Regions from separate parts of the Homo sapiens genome. Here all the other regions are linked to region 4. Evidence: promoter capture Hi-C in 16 types of primary human blood cells and fetal thymus (Javierre and others, 2016). All regions are on one chromosome and are shown on one strand. Each heading gives the region's core, a stretch centred on a gene start or on the middle of the fragment in contact. The rest is flanking DNA. Distances are from core to core; before and after follow the strand shown. Region 1 has its middle 200 kb from the start of LINC02553. Region 2 has its middle 340 kb from the start of LINC02713. Region 3 has its middle 110 kb from the start of ARHGAP42. Region 4 holds the start of CNTN5 (contactin 5).

Region 1 (2,700 bases), core at 100-2,599, 1.6 Mb after region 4:
CGTCCTACCCATCCTCCTTTCTTTCCCTTGTCCTTGCACAGGTATCAGACCTACATCATATCCTGAGTTCCCCTGATTGACTTATCCTTTATAGAAATCACCCCCTTTAAATCTCTTGCATGTTGTGTTAGTCCACTCTCATGCTGCTAATCTACAACTACCCAAGACTGGATAATTTATAAAGAAAAGAGATTTAATTGACTCACAGGTCAGCCTGACTCAGGAGGCCTCAAGAAACTTACAATCATGGCAGAAGGGGAAAAAAACACATCCTTCTTCACATGGCAGCAGCAAGGAGAGGTACATAGCAAAGTTGGGGGTAAAGCTCCTTATAAAACCATCAGAACTTGGAGAACTCACTATCACAAGAACAGAATGGAGGTAACCACCCTCATGATTCAACTACCTCCTGCTGAATCACTTCCATGACATGTGGGGATTATGGGAACAACAATTCAAGACGAGATTTGGGTGGGGTCATAGAGCTAAACCATATTATTCCACCCCTGGCCCCTCCCAAATCTCATGTCCTCACATTTCAAAACACAATTACGTCTTCCCAACAGTCCCCCAAAGTCTTAACTCATTCCAGCATTAGCTCAAAAGTCCAAGTTCAAAGTCTTATCTGAGACAAGGCAAGTCCATTCTGCCTATGAGCCTGGAAAATCAAAAGCAACTTAGTTACTTCCTAGATAAAATGGAGGTACAGGCATGGGGTAAACACACACATTCCAAATGGGGGAAACTGGCCAAAAAAGAGGGGCCACAGGCCCCAGGCATGTCTGAAATCCAATAGGGCAGTCATTAAACCTTAAAGTTCCAAAATGATCTCCTTTGACTCCATGTCTCATATCCAGGTAATACTGATGCAAGAGGTGGGGGCTCCCATGGCCTTCAACAGCTCCACTCCTGTGGCTCTTCAGGGCATAGCCGCACACTGGGCTGATTTCATGGGCTGGCATTGAGTGTCTACAGCTTTTCCAGGCATCCAGTGCAAGCTGTCAGTAGGTCTACCATTCTGAGGTCTGGAGGACAGTGGCCCTCTTCTCATGGCTCCACTAGGCACTGCCCCACTGAAGACTGTGTGGAGGCCCCAACCCCACATTTTCCTTTTGCACTGCCCTAGCAGAGATTCTCCATGAGGGCTCCGCCCCTGTAGCAAACTTCTGCCTGGACATCCAGGTGTTTTCATATGTCCTCTGAAATCTGCAACCTCAATTCTTGTCTTCTGCACACCTGAAGGACCAATACCATGTGGAGCTGCCAAGGCCTGGGCTTGCACTTTCTGAAGCCATAGCCCAAGCTGTACCTTGGCCCTTTTTAGCCATGGCTGGAGTGGCTGGGACACAGTCCTGAGGCTACACACAGCAAGGGGGTTCTGAATCTGGCCCAGGAGACCATTTTTCCATCTTAGGCCTCTGGGCCTGTGATGGGAGAGGCTGGTGTAAAGGTCTCTGACATCTCCTGAAGACACATTCCCCAGTATCTTGGTAATTAACATTCTGCTTCTGATTACTTATGCAAATTTCTGCAGCTGGCTTGAATTTCACCCCAGAAAATGAGCTCTTATTTCCTACCACATGGTCAGGCTGAAAATTTTCCAAACTTTTATGCTTGATTTCTTCTTGAATGCTTTGCCACTTCAAAATTTCTTCTGCCAGATACTCTAAATCATCTCTCTCAAGTTCAAAGTTCCATAGATCTCTAGGGCAGGGGCAAAAGGCTGCCAGTCTCTTTGCTAAAGAAAGAATCACCTTTACTCCAGTTCCCAACAAGTTTCTCATCTCCTTCTGAGACCACCTCAACCTGGACTTCATTGTCCATATCACTATCAGCATTTTGGTCAAAGCCATTCAACAAGTCTCTACTAAGTTCCAAACATTCCCATATTTATATTTATTATTAGCTCACCAAGTCTCTAGGAAGTTCAGAAGTTTCCCAAATTTTCCTGTCTTCTTCTGAACCCTCCAAACTGTTCCAACCTTTGCCTGTTTCCCAGTTCCAAAGTGACTTTCATACTTTTTGGTATCTTTACAGCAGTGCCTCACTCCCTGGTACCAATTTAGCATATTAGTCTGTTCTCATTCTGCTAAGAAAGAACAGTCTGAGACTGGGTAATTTTTAAAGGAAAGAGGTTTAATTGGCTCACAATTCAGCATGGCTGGGGAGGCCTCTGGAAACTTACAATCACGGTGAAAGGGGAAGCAAACATGTCCTTCATCACATGGTGGCAACAAGGAGAAGTGCAGATGAAAGCGGGGGAAAGCCCTTATAAAACTATCAGATCTCATGAGAACTCACTCACTATCACAAAAACAGCATGGAGGTAACCATGCCCATGATTCAATTACCTCCCACTGGGTCCCTCCCATGACACATCTGGTTTATGGGAACTATAATTCAAGATGAGATTTGGATGGGGACACAGCCAAACCATATCACATGTCTAATTCCATTTTGGCACATACTTCTTGGAAGACTGAAGTGACATCATCTTCTAAGTTTTAATGATAATAGGAAGGAGAAGTTAGTGGAACATAAAGCCATTTTGTGAAAAATTGAGATCTTCAGAGCATAAAGCAGCTCAACAGGGAGGAACTTAGGGACATAACATTTTACCCCCGATTTCTTCCCTCATTTCTGACAATTCCCAATGGCAGAAGCTCACTGAAGCCAGCAGGTGAGGCAGCCCATTCATGC
Region 2 (2,700 bases), core at 84-2,583, 1.4 Mb after region 4:
CCTGCTGTGCAGTAACAGACCAATTACACTGAGACAGCAGGGATGCAGCAGAGAAAGAGTAATGATTACAGGGTGCCAAGTGAGAAAATGGGACAAGACTCTCAAATCCATCTCCTGAGGAGCTCTGTGCTGAGATTTTTAAGATCACGGAGGGTGGAGGACTAGAAAATTGAGATTGTTGATTGGTTGTGGTAAGGAGGATGAAATCTTCGGAATATAGAAACTGTATTCTTTGGTTAGTCACCTCCTCATGGAGTCCTTCAGATCAGTTGCTGTCAGTGGGGACCTTAAGATCAGCTTGAGTTAGTAGTTTCTTCAGTATGCAGGACCTGAAAGAATATCACAAAGAGGAAACTTTATGTTTTGTAATATTCAAGTTGTTATTTATAGAACAGTTAAGGAAAATTATAATTTAGGGTCCATGTGATACTAGGACAACAGGCACCAAACAACTATGAGGAAGCAGATCAGAGGGAAAGCCGACCTAATGATTAATGCTGAATGTGCTGCAACCTTGCTCTATTTTTGTCTCTCTCCCTCTCTTCTTCCCTGATTATTATTATTATTATTTTTGAGACAGGGTTGGTCTTAGTCTGTCACCCAGGCTGGAGTGCAGTGGTACAATCATGGCTCACTGCAGCCTCAACTTCCTGGGCTCAGGTGATTCTCTCACTTCAGCCTCCTGAGTACCTGGGACAAGAGGTGTGCATCACCACACCTGGCTAATTTTATTTGTAGAGACAGGCTTTTGCCACATTGCCCAGGCTGGTATTGAACTCCTGAGCTCAGGAGTTCATCCTCCTTGGCCTCCCAAAGTGCTGAAATAACAGACATGAGCCACCACACCTGACCCCCTAATTAATTTTATAGTTTATAGGGACAGTTTCAATGATAGCCTTGAAAATCAACATCCTGCAATCATGTTGAAAACCAAAAGCTTGGAAACCAATGAAAGGGTATAATGATGTTGGAGATTCTTCAAAGCACCATTTCCAGAGAATTGTCCTTGTTTGACTTATCTGGTGGCTCCCTGGAAGCGCACACTTTCAGGGTTTCCTGACTCAGGTCTTTATTTGACCTGACTTGGAGCTTGCCCAGTACTAACAGCCTTTTCTGTAGGCACATTGGTTGAAAATAATTAGTGGCAATTTTTAAAATATCATTCGGCATGACCTGAGGTTATAAATAAAAGTTTGGGCAAACAATAGGCTAATCTAAAAGCTTAAAAGTGAAAGCTTGGTCATGACAAGTTTATATGGGCTTTAATGAGCAGCTACTTATTGCTGGTTATCTATAAGGCCACATGCATATATAGGGATTTATACATGCCCATAATGATGCATCTGTTCAGAAAATAAGTGAGAATGCCCTGATCTCTCACATCTGGCTCCTAGAGACTCTGCACAAATAGAAAGGAAAGGCCAAGCTTCATTGCTGATTGCTCACAGTATGCTTCAACATGAACACAGAGCCACTCGGTAAAGACAAAGAGATGTATTTTTCTTCCAGGCATTTAAGGAAATTACTATCCATTTATTAGCTGACCACTAGGCCAACAAAGTAGACGTCAGTGCCAAGACAGAATACAAACATTAGAGAATTCCGGAACTCACTAAGCAAGCGAATACAACAAAAAAACCAGAAACAACAACATAACTTGGGAAGGGAAGAGAATATGATTTCTAGAGTTACCACACTATATTATTTAGAATGTCCAATTTTCAACTACAAGCAAAACATTCAAATAAACAAAGTATGTTCGACACAAGGGAAAAAGCAGTAATTATACACTGTCACTGAGAAAACTCAGTGGACTTATTAAAGAAAGGCTTAAAATCAACTATTAAAAATATTCAAAGAACAAATGAAAATCATTTCTCAAGAACTAAAGGAAAGCATAAGAACAATGTGTTTGTTACCCAGAAAGACTATAGAGATTAAAGTGCTTTTAAAAAGAGAAAAATTAATTTCTGGAGTGAAAAATTCAGTAAATAAAATTACAAATGTACTAGTGTGGCTCAGCAGCAGATTTAGGCAAGAAGAAGAATGAATCAGAAAACTTGAAAGTATAACAATTATGTTATCCAGCCTGAAGGAGGAAAGGTAAAAATAATATAAACATAAGATAAACTGAGCCTCAAAAACCCGAGAGCCACCATCAAGTGTACTGACATATGCATAAAGGAAGACACAGAAAAAATGAAGAGATAAAGAGACAGAAAAAAATATTTGAGAAAAACAACTGCTGAAAACGTTAATCTATTCATCAAAGAAGCTCAATGAAATTTGATTGGATGCCATCAAATAGATCTCACCCAGAAACATTATAACAAACTGTTAAAAGACACTGATAAACAGAAATCCTGCAAGCAGCTGGGAGAAACAACTTATCACATACAACGGACTCTCAATAGAATTTGCAGCCAATATGTCTTCTAAAAACCACAGAGAGCAAAGGGCAATAAAATGGCATCTTAAAAACGCTGCAAAAAAAAAAATGACTACACATGAAGAATTCTATAATCAGAAAAATTATACTTCAGAATGAAGGAAAAATTGAGTCACTTCTACATAAATAAAAACAAAGAAGTCATCATTCAGATATGCCTTACAAGAAATACTAAAGGTATCATTCAGGCCGAAATGACAGAATACTAGTCAGCTACTTGAATCCAAATCAAGAAATAAAGAATAGTGATA
Region 3 (2,700 bases), core at 132-2,631, 1.6 Mb before region 4:
AACACACAGAAACAACTCAACATGCTTTTCCCACAAGATGTCACTGTGGTACCTATGAAATACAGTCATAGATGTATTTATCTTTCCATGACCTTATTTTTTAAGAAATGATCAATTAAAAAAGATTCACATATGGATAGATGATCCTGAAATTAAATACACACAAAATAAGTAAATTTATAGATGTTCAATATCTACTACTTATGCATGACAGCAAACATATTTATTTGGATATATATTGAAATCTTAACTATATGCATCCAAAGGGAATATAAAACTGGCAATCTAAGAATATATGCAAGGTTGTAGTCAAGATTATTCATTCTTAGACAAATACCATAAAATATGACATGTCACTCACAGTGAGACTCACCTCACCAAGTATGTGATACACTTATGGGTGGTTACAGATTGTCTAGATATTTAATATGCATGATTTTTGATTGACTAACAACTGGCAAATTTGCCTGTGCTTGCTTTCTGTTTTAAGTGAGCCTGAAGTTAAGAGCCAAGCAGTCAGATAGACCAGAGTTCAAAATCCAGCTCAGCCACCTGTATAACCTCTGGCAAGTTAATTAAACTCCCTGAGTCTGCTTTCTAATTTATAAAATGGGGATGGTAATATCTATCTCATTGCAGTTGCTGGGAGAGTAAATCGAGACAATGCATGTAAGGCACCCAGCACAGAAGAGATACTCAATAAATAATTGTTGTCATTATTAATTCCAAGAGGGAAGTGTTAATTAGAATCAGATTTTAATGTTTGATCACAGGCCTTAGCATATGAAATGCCTGAGTTTGGTTTACAGATATGGAATTCCTGTGTAATATAATTCAAGCATATACAAACATTTAAACACTTGCAATAACTGATATTATATAATTACCTCTAATCAAGGTTTTTTTCTTTTCTTTTTTCTTTTTTTTTGAGAGAGAGTCTCGCTCTGTCACCCAGGCTGGAGTGCAATGGCACGATCTCAGCTCACTGCAACCTCTGTCTCCCAGGCTCAAGCAATTCTCCTGCCTCAGCCTCCCGAGTAGCTGGGATTACAGACGTGTGCCACCATACTTGGCTAATTTTTGTATTTTTAGTAGAGACGGGGTTTCACCATGGTGGCCAGGCTGGTCTCAAACTCCTGACCTCAGGTGATTTGCCTGCCTTGGCCTTCCAAAGTGTTGGGATTACAGGCATGAGCCACCATGCCCAGCTTTTTTTTTTCTTTTCTTTTCTTTTTTGTAAAATCAATTATTTGTTTGAAGAGTAAACACAAGTCTGGCCTTGCTTTTTGGAATGATTCTCTTCTGCTGGTTACCGTAAGTGAAATTTGACTTAAGTTTGGCAGCTGCGCATAGTTAAATATCATTTGGCCAATTGTTGGCCAAACTGGGGGATTTCCTCTCATCCTCTTGTGTTAATCCCTTCATGTTGTATTGTATTGTTCTCCTATTTTTAAGCCTTCAGTAGCTCCCCAAGGCTCTGAGGATAAAGTACAAATATGGCAGACATCTGCAGCTTGCCCAGTCAGTGTAATCAGCCTCAGATGTTACAGCCGGAATGTTCTTGCTACCAGCTCATGAGCTACTCTTAAAAAATGAGGAGTCTGAGAGCCAGGAGCCTATAATAACTTGCCCAAAGTCGTGCTGCTCCTAAATGACAGTGCTAAGACTAGAATCCAAGTGTTCTCACTCACTGGCTCTAGTCCTAAATGAGGAGGACACCTTAATCCCAGAAGAAAGGGTTGTTTTCTTCAACTCAACTGCTGTTAAAGACCTAAACCAGATTGGGCCAATGAGGAACTGCAGAGTAGTACTTGCTCATCCTAAGCAGTTGGCTTATGCCAAACAGTAAGATGTTTCAAAGGTCATAAGAAATCCTTTTTGTTTGATATGTCCCATCTATTAAAATTAAAATTTTATTTTTTTCTCACAAGTTTTGAATGGGACAACTAAGTAAAATAAAATAGTATAACATTGCTAATCATTTCTACAGCGTGAGTTGGTTTGTGGACCACTCTGAGGTCTACAGTCCTTTCATGCTGATGGGGACTCTGTGCTACACTAGAAGCAGCAGAGACGTGTTGCGGTAGACCTTTGCTTCTCAAAAGTGTGATCTGCAGGCCAACAGCATTCGTTTCACCTGCCAGCTCATTTGAAATGCAGAATCCCAGGCTTCACCCAGACTTCTTCTTTTTTTTTTTTTTCTTTTTGAGGTGGAGTCTTTCTCTGTCGCCCAGGCTGGGGTGCAGTGGCGCCATCTCAGTTCACTGCAATCTACGCCTCCCAGGTTCGAGTGATTCTCCTGCCTCAGCCTCCCGAGCAGCTGAGATTACAGCCATGTGCCACCACACCTGGCTGATTTTTGTATTTTTAGTAGAGACGGGGTTTCACTACATTAGCCAGGTTGGTCTCGAACTCCTGACCTCAGGTAATCAACCCGCATCAGACTCTCAAAGTGCTCGGATTACAGGCGTGAGCCACCGTGCCTGGCCCTCACCCAGACTTCTTAAATTAGAAGCTGCATTTTAACAAGATTCCCAAGGGATTTGTGTGAACACTAAAGTTTAAGGAGCACCGTCTTAGGCACTACATGAAAGAGCCCCATGAAAGCAGAATGCTGTTTGGATCCTGTCTTGATGCTCTGGCGGATTTTGCCCCAGGAAGCATGCAAACTCCTTGGCACAGCTATTTACATTAATTTGG
Region 4 (2,700 bases), core at 40-2,539:
TTCTTTCATCCTTATTTCCACAGTCGTAATTGAGAATCAAAGTAGAAGTATTGACCCTCTAAATGATTTTCTCTTTTAAATTAAGAAACAAATGAATGAAATGTAGGTAAGGCATTGAACATACAACAGTTTAAAAGTTTTTTGCTTCTCACCTGCATTTAAATTACCACATGAAATTGTATTTTTCTTGGGAGAACAGTTCTAAGATTTAAAAGTAATATAATTCTAAAATATTTAGTGGATTCTGGTTCTTTCGCAAATAAATATAGTTGAAACAACTTATTGTTCAGGTCATCAGAGTAATTCTCAGGTTTGTGTATGTGCAAATTGATATTCTCTTCCGTATATCTCCCTACAAAACATGGTAAGGATGTCTGAACATAATTTTTTAATCTATCACAATCCTATACAACCTTTAGAAAAAAGCTCAGCATAATCCAAGATACAGTTTTTCTCAGTCTCACGAACTTTGTAGAACTCCACTTATAGAGCATCCCTACTGAATTTTAACAAGTTATTGCAATGCCAGATGCCCAATTATTTAGTCTCGGAAACTCATTGCTCAAACATAAGGCATACATTCAGTACCTGAGAACGGCATCCTATTTTCCAAACATTTAGTTTCTTTTGTAGAAACATCCTCACTTTATCCTGGCATTTATTGCCTTACAATTTGCAATTTGCGTGTAGGAATTGCTTACTCTTATTTTGGGTGGCATTAGGAGATATACAAATAGGTTATATTTACTCTTGTTTCAACTTTTTGCCATAAAATCCCAGCAGGAAATAAAGTCGTGTTTTGTTTCCTTTATTTAAAAAAGCTTCATCTTACAGTTTTTACATTCTGGCAACATGGCAAGAAAGGATGGCTTTGCAGAACAGAGTGTGTCAAAAATCCTAAGTGGCTGGGAGATGAAGTGCACAATCACAGAACGCAGTCACTGGCAAAGGAATGTCAGCCACTTACCAATAAGATGCCAGACTCCACTGTCCTTCCTCTGTGACTCTCAATTCCTGTCTCCCATCCTCCTGCCCATCAGCACAGTTCAGAGAGAGCGGTTCCTCGGGTCCTTTGCAGCCTGTGGCAGAGGCGAATTGCGGAGTTCTTAATCATTCAGAGGGAATCCTCCAGCTTGCCCTGCCTCTCGCAGCAGACGGGACCCAGGTAACGCATCCTCTCCGCCCCGAGCTTTAATGGCACTTTGGCTGCCGCCTTCTCGCAGTTCCGCTCCCCCACGCCGTAGTTGGTTATATTGGGAAGTAGGTGCGGCGCCTCCTGCGGCTGGTGTGTTTGGGGCTCGCGTGTTTTCCTCCAATGCGTCCGCGCGCCCTGCGCCCCGCGCCTCTGACTGGCTGTGTCCTCCCGGGGCGGCCCCTCGCCCCTCCCCGGCCGCCCGCGCTGTCACCGGCGCCCGCGTCCAGCGCCTCACTGCCTCTTGCTGCAAAGGTTCATTGAGCATGTCCCTGGGCTTAACGAACTGTGCGCCTCCCGGAGGGTGCTCTGTGTTTCTCCACTCGTCTCACTAGTCAACCGGCATTTTCCTTCCCTGCTAAGTACAGAGGACCTGCCCCCCTTCCCCGAGCGTTTCTGCTCTGCAACCCCTCCGTATTTAACATTCATAGATTACAAAGCAAACGTGCTGGCTGGAGTCGGCACGGGAGATCCAGGCGAGAGTCCCTTCCTCCGCTCCTGTCTTCACTCTGATTCCTGTAGTCCCCGGCTCACACCTCTGACAGCAGCAGCACAGACTGACGCGTTCACTTAGGTCGGTTTGAGAGTGGACTTTTTCACTTTGCAGAATTTTCTTAAGTCCTGAATGGGAAGCACTTCTCTTTTGTTTCTGCACTTACGCGTTTCATCTAAGGACTATCAGGCTCTGCCTGTTTATATTTCTCTTTGATTTGGGGTGTTGACTCAGTTCTAAAAAAAAGCGAAGGAATGGTCTCAGCAACCTTTTTTTCGGAATTTTTATATTACAATGGCTGTAATTGGAAAAATAACACAGGTAGTAAATCCACAGTGTGGCAGCTTTAGTGCCATTGTTCTGCCAGTCCTCCTCTCTACTTTTTTTTTTTTTTTCCTCTCAGTCTTTGAGTCGTTTTCCAATTCCCACGATTGGGCTGATGGTAATTGGGTATTTGTTAAATAAATTATATAACATTTCCTTTGCAATATATTTCCATAGAGAATGTGGTTTGCACCTGTATTTAATGGAAAGGAAATCCCACGTACTGCTTTCTATCTCTGTGTCTGTATAAGAAACTGCATGGGAGTCTAGGGTCGCACCCCGTGTCCGCTGGTGTCCGTTTTTCATGTGTGTTTGAGAGCAGCCTGACCCTGGACTGACGCTGATTCTTCTGCTCACTGAATCCCCCGATGGGGTCTGACTGGCTCTAATTGGCAAGGAGAGTACAGTGCCAGGCAGCCTGTAGCTGGAAGCCGTCTACCACTAGCCCTGTGTTCTTTCTCTTGCAGTTTTTCTGGTAATTAAAATTAGTCTTTTCCTGTTTCTTGGCTGCTTCTCATTCATCCAATGATGTACAAACACCCAGTCTCTGCTTTTAATCGCTATCCTCAGGATCTAGGCTGATTGCTTGTTCTGTAGCAAAGACAAATTTGTGTGCATTTAATACTTCTCCACTCTTCCATACTTTTTATATTCGTGTTCCTGCTTTCCAGTAACTAGGTTATCTTCTTTA

What was found. Contacts are between HindIII fragments. The CHiCAGO score rates a contact against its expected background, and 5 or more counts as called.
Region 1: a fragment that was not itself captured here is called in contact with the fragment with the promoter of CNTN5 in region 4 in 1 of 17 cell types (endothelial precursors); the score reaches 5.1 in endothelial precursors.
Region 2: a fragment that was not itself captured here is called in contact with the fragment with the promoter of CNTN5 in region 4 in 1 of 17 cell types (megakaryocytes); the score reaches 5.7 in megakaryocytes.
Region 3: a contact is called between a fragment that was not itself captured here and the fragment with the promoter of CNTN5 in region 4, in 1 of 17 cell types (endothelial precursors). The highest score is 5.4, in endothelial precursors.

Annotation. Positions count from the first base shown.
Region 1 is chr11:97,462,541-97,465,240 of GRCh38, reverse strand. No RefSeq gene overlaps it. Among named protein-coding and RNA genes, the nearest start is that of LINC02553, 200 kb to the right of the region's middle. The HindIII fragment of the contact is 3,822 bases long and covers 1-2,700 here.
Region 2 is chr11:97,614,571-97,617,270 of GRCh38, reverse strand. No RefSeq gene overlaps it. Among named protein-coding and RNA genes, the nearest start is that of LINC02713, 340 kb to the left of the region's middle. The HindIII fragment of the contact is 191 bases long and covers 1,238-1,428 here.
Region 3 is chr11:100,572,924-100,575,623 of GRCh38, reverse strand. No RefSeq gene overlaps it. Among named protein-coding and RNA genes, the nearest start is that of ARHGAP42, 110 kb to the left of the region's middle. The HindIII fragment of the contact is 8,040 bases long and covers 1-2,700 here.
Region 4 is chr11:99,019,538-99,022,237 of GRCh38, reverse strand. CNTN5 (contactin 5) reads right to left here and starts at 1,289. Exons shown (of 25, transcript NM_014361.4): 1 at 968-1,289. The HindIII fragment of the contact is 2,136 bases long and covers 824-2,700 here.